2 separate regions of the Homo sapiens genome follow, and region 1 is linked to region 2. The links are contacts of gene promoters, found by promoter capture Hi-C in human tissues and cell types (Jung and others, 2019). All regions are on one chromosome and are shown on one strand. Each heading gives the region's core, a stretch centred on a gene start or on the middle of the fragment in contact. The rest is flanking DNA. Distances are from core to core; before and after follow the strand shown.

Region 1 (4,612 bases), core at 1,650-4,149, 45 kb before region 2:
TGCCAGTTAGAACTGAAAAGAAAAGAAACAAAAAGTAATGAAGGAAAGCTATCAGGCTTTGTTGTTTTTGCAGCATGGGACCAGAGAGGTATATATCTGAGAACAGACATTATTCTTCAATACAAGAACAATGACCCCGGAAGGCCATTCAGAGACCATCAGGACTGCTTTCTCAGGTTCAAAACAGGGGATCATTGCTTTGCTCTCAACAGGCCAGAAAGCCTCTTCTCAAAGCTGTGAGATCAGGGCCCCCCAGAACTGTGAGGTCATGAGTACCCAGGAAAGCGCTGGGGGTGAGAACCCTGCAGAGTAGAGTTTCAAGTTCAGGACTTCTTCCCTAGTGGGCCTAGAAGGTGAAATATTAGCTCCAGTGGGCTTGGAGGCACAGCATGGAGCCAGAGGATTATTCTTGACCCTTAATTCCTTCCCTTCTCAAGATCTCATGAAGTTTGCCTTGTAGTTTCAACTTACTTGGCCTCTGTTACTCCCTTTCTTCTTTCTTATTTCTCCCTTTTGAAATGAAAATGTCTAGCCTATGCCTGTCACACAATTGTATTTTGGAAGCACATAATATGTTTTGTTTCAAAGGTTCACAGCTTTAGAGGATTTTGCCTCACAGTGACTCATACCTCGAGTCTCACACATACCTAATTTAGAAGAGACTTAGAAGAGACTTGGGACTTAGACTTTACAGTTGATGCTAGGATGAATTAAGATATTTGTGGCTAATGGAATGGAATGAATGTATTTTTCATGTAAGAAAGACATGAATTTCGAGGGGCTATGGACAGAATGCTATAGACTGAATGTTTATGTCTCCCCAAAATTCATATGTTGAAACCTTATCCCCAGTGCAATGATATTTAAAGGTGGGGCCTACAGGAGGTGTATAGGTCATGAGGGCAGGACTCTCATGAATGGGATTAATGTCCTTATGAAAGAGACTCTATAAATAAGATCCCTTCTACCTCACATTCTACCATGTGAGGACACAGCCATCTCTGAACCAGGATGTGGGCTCTCGTCAGACACCAAATCCGTTGCTGCCTTGATCTTGGACTTCCCAGCCTTCAAAACTGTGAGAAATAAATTTCTGTTGTTTATAAGCCACCCAGGTTATGTTATTGTTGGAGCAGACAAAACTGACTAAGACAATGTGTTTATTTTTTCTTTAGCTACTAGACAGTTTGCAGTAAATCCAGGAAACAATCCATCAGTTGAATGGGATCATATCATATGCATATGCCCATGACACATTTATCCTTGGGCTTTATTTTTTTCCTCCACTGATTTATCTAACATCCAATGTCCTTTGATTTAAAAATTAACTCTATCTCACTCCATAAATCTGTGAGGGACTTTGCAAAAAATTACATAAAAGGATAAACAGACCGATGGGTGACTATACAGATGAATTGATATCTAGGTAAATAATATCTATTCAGGTCTTTGCACCCTTATCCATTTCTACTTCCTTTCAGACTTTGAGGATACCTGCAATAGTAACTACATTTTTTTCTTGTCAGAATAACCATATACTGAGTATGTCACATTTTGGTTGTCTCCTCTATTTCTGGGTACCATAAAATAACATATAACTATGTCTGAGCAATGGATACAGACAAGACATGACATGTAAAACTTCCAGGTCAGAATACTTATAATGTGAGGTCCTCCACAGCTCTCTTTTCCAATCTCAAGAACCAGCAATGCCACAGTTGGTGGACTCTTTAACACTTGGGTCCCTGAGTGATAACTATGCAGATGAGAACTCCCACATGACTCACACAGGTCATATTGTTCTTTGCTGCAGCATCAACTAATCTATCCTGAAAGCTATATACCATAATGAAATGAGTACAGAGCCAGTGAAATGGAAGTGGTGGACAAGCCTCCAAAGTAGCTGAAACTGGTAATATAGGAAGTGAAAGGAAAAGGCAAAATATCAAAATTTCACTGCAGATTTTGAAGTACACTTTCAAAACTGCAAAAGAATTGGTAAGGGTTTAGAGATGAATCATGAAAGTGACTAGGATAGACATAGAAACAGCAAAGAAATATTAAATGTGCTCTTATTGTTTACCTACAGAATGGTGGCCCTTTGTACATTTCATGCACTCAGCTGAGGTATTGCAACTAGTTTTAAAGAAAGGCTATGGTTTGTATATAAGGGTTGCATTTCAAGAGTCTCTAGCAGTAATCCAATTTAATCTTTCAAGGGAATAATACAAACATGGGATTTGTAATCAGAAATATCTTACTGTGGCTGAGGCTTTGAAAATGTTACTTTGCTTTGCTTGGCCTTGATTTTTGTTTTATTAGGAAAATGGAGAGTATTGTACCTATATGCAGTGTTGATGAGATAATCATATTAAATAATCCAAGAAAATCTTTGGCCAGGGAAAAAGTTCATTTATTATTAGAAGCCTTCAAATATTTTATTTTACAATAGGAAGTCTAATCCACAGAGAGATTAACCTAGTTGTCCATGTCATGGAGCTAAGAAAAATGTCTTCTAATAACCTATAGAATTTGGGTATTTTTCATATTTTCTGAGGACTAAACAAGTAGATAGGTCACAAGTTAAGTCAAAATTAATTTCAGATAGATAAAAGAGTGAGAGTATTCATCATCCAAAAAATGGAGTGGTAGAAAATGAAGGAGGCCTGAGAGTCTCTATCTATGGAACTATCCGTTTACAGCCAAGACTGATCACAGCTAACCACAAATCTGCCCTCACTTAGAAAAGCTTTCCATGGTTTCTTCCAGCTAATTCCTATATGTTTTAATATCTTTTCAGAGCACAAAGCACATGCCATCTAGGATGACTACCAGGCTTTCCATCATGGCCTGCCTTATAATATATCTCCTGTGTTATTATCATTCTTACTGTTTATTAGACTTTAAATTGGTTTTACCTTTGCAAGTGAATATATTTAATGTCAGAAATAATTAGAAGTCGAGATTTTTGAGGGTAAGTATTGAATGAATGTTAACTACTTGGCATCTTCATACATCATATATAAATGTATCATACATTATACATCAATACAGCATAAAGCATCTCTTACAGTGCTATGCACATAGCAGGCAGGTAATTTGTATTTGCTGAATGAATAAATAAATACATGAATAAAGAAAGTAATAAAAAAATTCACTGCCTGTAGGCAAGTACCTGGAAGACATGATTGTACAGTATTATATTATTCTATTCTCTGATGGGAAGAGTCTGATTTAGACTAGAAAATTCAAAACAAGTAAGAGGACATCGAGACTAAGCAAATCACAGCAGTGATACTTATTAGTTTATAGACAGAGACCAAAGACTTATAACATGGATCACTTGAAATAAGGACCAGGAAATTCACAGAAGTAGGCAATCTCATAATGCACAGGATAACCTAATAGATCTTTCCACCTGTTATTCCTCTAAGGGAGGACTCTTTCCATGAAACCAAAGATGACTAACTTGAAAGGCAAAGCACGACTGCTTAAACCGGCCATGCATCACTGGCACCAAACTGCTACAACTGAAAATGCGGAAAGCAGGCTATCCACATTCAAGCAAACCCATTTAATTCCCATACTACATCCCTTCTTGTAACATGCTCCTCATAGGGGAGACCACAGTGAGGAAATCCCTAGGTTCTATGTTTCAGGTCTCAAGTGAAAAAAAAGCAAGAAAAAATGATCTATGCTAAGGAGAAGAGGGAGATGGGAATAGGATGGCTTTGCTTAGGGTCTATATGCCAAAATGCAGAGGATAAAGAGAAAAGCGACCAGCACTTCGAAAAGGAGGTTCATGTTAGAAGGTAACATGGCACAGTGAAAATCACAGGTGTCTTTGGAGCCGAAGTCTTTAAATTTATAACATGCAACTTAGTGTCTATAATCTCAAGCAGTTTATTTCATTTTTCTGAGCTTCAGTTTCCCTTATAAACTGCGGACAGTACCACCTGTTTCTCAGGGTTGCCACAGGATGCCATGTGATTATTCATGAGATTGTCTGGAATATAGTAGCTCAGTAAAATATAATCCCTCTCTGTCAATCCTGAGAGCCATTTTTGACAAAACAAAAAGTTTCAGAATGTTGAGAAGATCCATAAAATGCATGGACCTAGGCAAAGCAGGAGCTCAGAGCTAGAACTGGTTACATGAGCAGAAGAAGCATCCCCACTGCTCTCAATCAAAGACTTGGGTTCTCAAGGACAAAATTCATACAATGACATCTTTGGGACCATCCCTTCTAAGCTTTTAAGTTGTTTAAAGGAAAGTACAACAAAGAAGGCTAGATGATGCCTGTTATTACATTATTGTTAAGACTGGAGGGAAAGGCATTAAATGTAAAATGGCTAACTGTGATTTAACAACATTATCAAACATGATTCTACAGTAAAAAAAAAAAATCACAGGGTATTAAGTAACATCATATCAATTCCCCAGGGAATATCATTTAGAGACAAGATAAAACTGGCATAACAGTACATACAGTTGGAGAATTGTTATGATAAGGGACAAAAACACATTATTTTCTTGTGTATGCATCTCTTTGCATAACAAATATAAAATGTCTGAAAGAAATACACAGTGGTTCCTTTTGACACAAGGACTG
Region 2 (3,995 bases), core at 1,393-3,892:
ATAAGCACCATTTATTATTATTTTTTAATGCTGGCAGTGCTTGGCACCATTTCCTAAACGGAGGTTAAAAATTTGCCAAAGATGTATTCTACTTTTCTCTTTCTTTCCAAGATCTTTCAAGAGATGAGCTAAAAGAAGAGGTCTAATGGGTGAGTGATATTTTACAGCTTGAATTACATTAAAAGCCAGAAACATTCTGAGTCCAAAGTCTTTTACTTCTTAATACAACAAGAGCTAACATGTTTGATGTGTTTCAAATCTCCCCTTAAAGCCAGAAGCTTTGAGTTAATCACTTAAAGCAGTGTGAAAGTTATTCAATCAGTTTAAGAAGATTCGAGTTCAAATTAGAGGATTAATTTTAGTGGCTATGATATGAAAGATATAATGGTTAAGGTAAGGAATGAGGGCAAGGGTCTCCAGAACTTGAATGGAAAGAATTTCAGCTTCATTTATTTGATCAAACCACTCCTGAGAACCATATAAAATCACAGACTCTGTCATGAAGGAGGAATTGTAGGGAAAACCCTGCTACTACTCTCAGGACAGATACATCAATGCTAAATATTATCTATCATGATGTGCCTTAATACAATTTATATCTGTGTACCCAAGGAATTCATGATGACAGATTAGTATTTTAAAATGTTCACAACTCTCATTAAAAAGCTGACAATGAGCACAACTCACTAAAGTGGCACTTCTCTGGGAAGGTTTCTGGGAATTACATCACAACAGAAAACGTTTTGAAAGGTTCCAGACTGCGTAAATTGTGCATATTACAAACACTACAATCTCAATTACCTGGTTGAAGCTGTAAAACTTGAAATTTTTTTCCCCCATTTTACCCATCCTTGGTTGTTATGTTCTTGTCTATGTCTGGAGAAGTTTCCACACTTTAAAATCACTTTTAGTTATTACAATCAAAGCTGGTTCTCTACTATTTCAACTCACTGAAGTTTCTAGGTTCAATTTAAACAGGAATAGCTCCCTCAGATTGCAGACATGCAAGCTTTTCTGAAAATCTAAAACCTTTCCTGATAGGACCAAAGCTCATGGACTTGCATCCTAAGTCCCCTGGAATCCAGCCTCCTGGAATTGAGCAATCCCTTTCCTGCCTTCATAAAGGGAATGTTAAGTCTTTATTTGTGCTCTTCATTAGAGGAGGTCAGGCAATGGGGGAGAACAGGGAGTTGTTGTCACTGGGATATATCTGATCTTCCTGGGACTGACCATGCCAGAGAACAACCGCTCATTCACGGGCTGGAAAGCCCCAGTTCTCAAAACACCCTCGCTTAGCGCTGTTAGAAGATGCTGGAGAGTTCCTGCCCTGAAACTTGCATCCACTTGGTCCCTAAAGCAGAGGATACACTAAAGAACACCTTATATACTCTCCACTGCAGTTCTCCCTTGTGGAGAAGAAGGGGTTAGGAGCTCCGCATGAAATTAAAATAAAATAAAATAAAACGCCTACATATATGGGTCTTCTTAATCTTCTTTGAGCCAGTACATAGGTCTGGCAAGTAAAGGGAAAGTCACTTGAGGGGATGTCAGCTTGCCTGGAAATTTAACCCTTTCATCTCTGTATTAGGAGAACTTTAACCCCTCTGTTTACCTGGTCTTCAGTTCCACACACCAATGCGACCAAGGCAACAGGAAATAGGGATTTGACTCCTCAGTTTGAAGCTGTGGCATTTGGAGAGGACTCTGATGGTGTTGGTGGGAGAGATGGGGAGGTTGGTCTCCTAGTAGGTGATGTTAACTCTTGGGGGAAGTGGGCAGAGACCAGTTTGCAGCATCTCCCATGTCCAGAAACCCTATTTCCCCCCAATTCTCCATCAGATCACACAGCCGACTTTAACCCTTTCCATCTTTCCACCCCTTTACCCTCAGTCCCATTCTACTCACGCTGCTGTTGTGGCCAGACCAGTGGACCATGGCTTGGTTGTGTGCTGAGTCTCCCGTCAGCGCAAACGTGGTGCTGGTCAGTCTCAGCTCCTCCATCCGGAAGCGGGTGGCTTTGTCCGGGTCCCGCTCCCGAGTCCCAGGCTCCTGCTGCCCTCCATCTCTTAGCACTCCCCGGGGGCTCCGACTCGCGCCCTCTCCCCGTTCTGCCTTCTCCTGATCCGCTCCGCTCCGTCTCCTCCGGCCGGAGCGTGCAGCAACCGCCATGGATGCCCCAGTGCCCCGAGCCCGCTCCAGGGATAGCGCTCGGTCCCCGGGGGCCACTGAGAACAGGGGACGCACTACGAGGGGCAGGGGCGTGGCAGGAGCCCTGCCTGGCCGCCCCTGGTGGGAAAAGCCCCTAGGGGTCGAGGCCGAGCGTGGAGCGGAGCTGGGGTGCGGCGAGGGGCAGCAGGAGCCGCCGCCGCAGACGCCCGGGGCGCAGAGGATCAAGAGCCCCGCGCCGGCGAGGAGCGCGCTCAGCCGGGCTTGGGAGCCGCCGCCGGCGCCAACTTTTCCCATCGCGGGAGCGAAGAGCAGCGGAGAGAGGGGTCCCAGAACGAAGGTGGCGGCACGAGCTCTGCGCTGGCGGCTGTGGGGGGCCGGCGCTCAGGACCCCAACTCCATCCAAGTTGCGCCGCGGTGGGGGCGGGCGGAGGCGGCGCCGGGCAGGTGGCGGCCGCTTGCCCGGGCTGGGCTTGTGCCGAGCGCGGGTCCGGACGGAGCGAGCCGCCGCCGCGCGGGGGTGGAGCTGAGCTGAAGTCACTGGCGGAGCGGGCGCGGGCGCTGGCGGGCGACGCGGGAGGGAGGGCAGGCGCTGCCGGGACTCCGGGCGCCGCGTCCCGCGGCCGAGCTGCGCTGCGCACCGGGTCTCCGGGCGCTGGAGGCGCCGCCGGCGACCTCCCCTCGGCCTCGCAGGCGCTGCCGCCGCCTCTCCCCGCCGCCCACTCTGCGCCCCCGCGGCCGCGGGTCCCGGCGCTGAGTCCGCGCACCCTGCCCGCGGGGGCGGTCGACCCCGGGCTCCCGGAGCAGTCGATGTGTCGGGAGCTTCCTATTCCTGCTTTATTGTTTCTATGAGTCTATGTTGCTGTTTCCTTTTTTCTCCGTCTTTCTGGTCTTTTCTAGTTGAGGAGATAGGGATGGGTGGGCTTCTGCTCCTTCCCTCTCTTATGCTTCCTGAGTTGGCATCTTGACCTTACCCGCAGCAGAGCCTGTGTGTCCCAGCCTGGGGGGAGATCCCGGAAAGGCAGCAGCAGAGAGTGATGTAATTAAATGATCTCGTGTGTGAGTGTGTGTGTGTGTGTGTGTGTGTGTGTGTTAGTTTGGGGGATTTTTTTTCCCATCAATTTTAACGCTTAGATTTCTCTCCTAACCTCCTAAAGCATTCACTGAATTTGAACCCAATCTTCCTGCATGCAATCATATTTAAGAAAACGCTTTCCACTACGCGTTTTTTAAGCGTATATATCTTGGTTTCCCTAAGAGACTGCAAACTCATTGAGGACAGGAAGATCAAATTTCGAGCAACTTGGAGGAAGTGACCTGTTTTTTGTTTACCATTTTCCTCAGTACGTGGCACAGTACCCTACATGGGAGGAAATCTGCCAGTCATTAGTTCAATAAATATTTATTGTGAGTCTAATGCATATCTGCATAACAAATAAATACAGGAAAGGAGGCACAGTACTTATAGTTATTCTGTGTCACTTGGTGCCTGGCCCAGTGCTACTGCCACATGCTTTGAGATCCCTAATAGCAAGTCTGTGATGGTGCTCTGCCACTGGTTTGCTTTGGGACCTCAGACAAATCACAATCTGTCAGCTTCCTAAGCTTTAAAATTAAATGGTCACATTAGATGACCTTTAAAATCCCTTCCGCTCCTAAAATTCTATAATTGTATGATTATAGTATCTGCCCAGCCTAGCACCCTGCTACTATTCGTAAGTTCAGATGAAGATTTATAGCAGGTGAATGGGCTTTGAAAACGGCAAAGGATTTCTCAAAATCCAATCCTTTTTAAAGTAGACAGTTTGCTTCTAAGGGTTGAAATGGTT

The links. The method cuts DNA at HindIII sites, captures the fragments that hold promoters and counts their contacts. A contact is called where the count stands out against the background at its distance.
Region 1: a contact is called between a fragment that was not itself captured here and the fragment with the promoter of SORCS1 in region 2, in 1 of the 25 tissues and cell types used here (dorsolateral prefrontal cortex).

What each region holds. Positions count from the first base shown.
Region 1 is chr10:107,117,224-107,121,835 of GRCh38, forward strand. All of the region lies in intron 1 of SORCS1 (sortilin related VPS10 domain containing receptor 1), which reads right to left. Among named protein-coding and RNA genes, the nearest start is that of SORCS1, 45 kb to the right of the region's middle. The HindIII fragment of the contact is 4,505 bases long and covers 648-4,612 here.
Region 2 is chr10:107,162,064-107,166,058 of GRCh38, forward strand. SORCS1 (sortilin related VPS10 domain containing receptor 1) reads right to left here and starts at 2,643. Exons shown (of 26, transcript NM_052918.5): 1 at 1,906-2,643. The coding sequence starts at 2,463. RefSeq lists a silencer at 2,359-2,552. The HindIII fragment of the contact is 4,558 bases long and covers 644-3,995 here.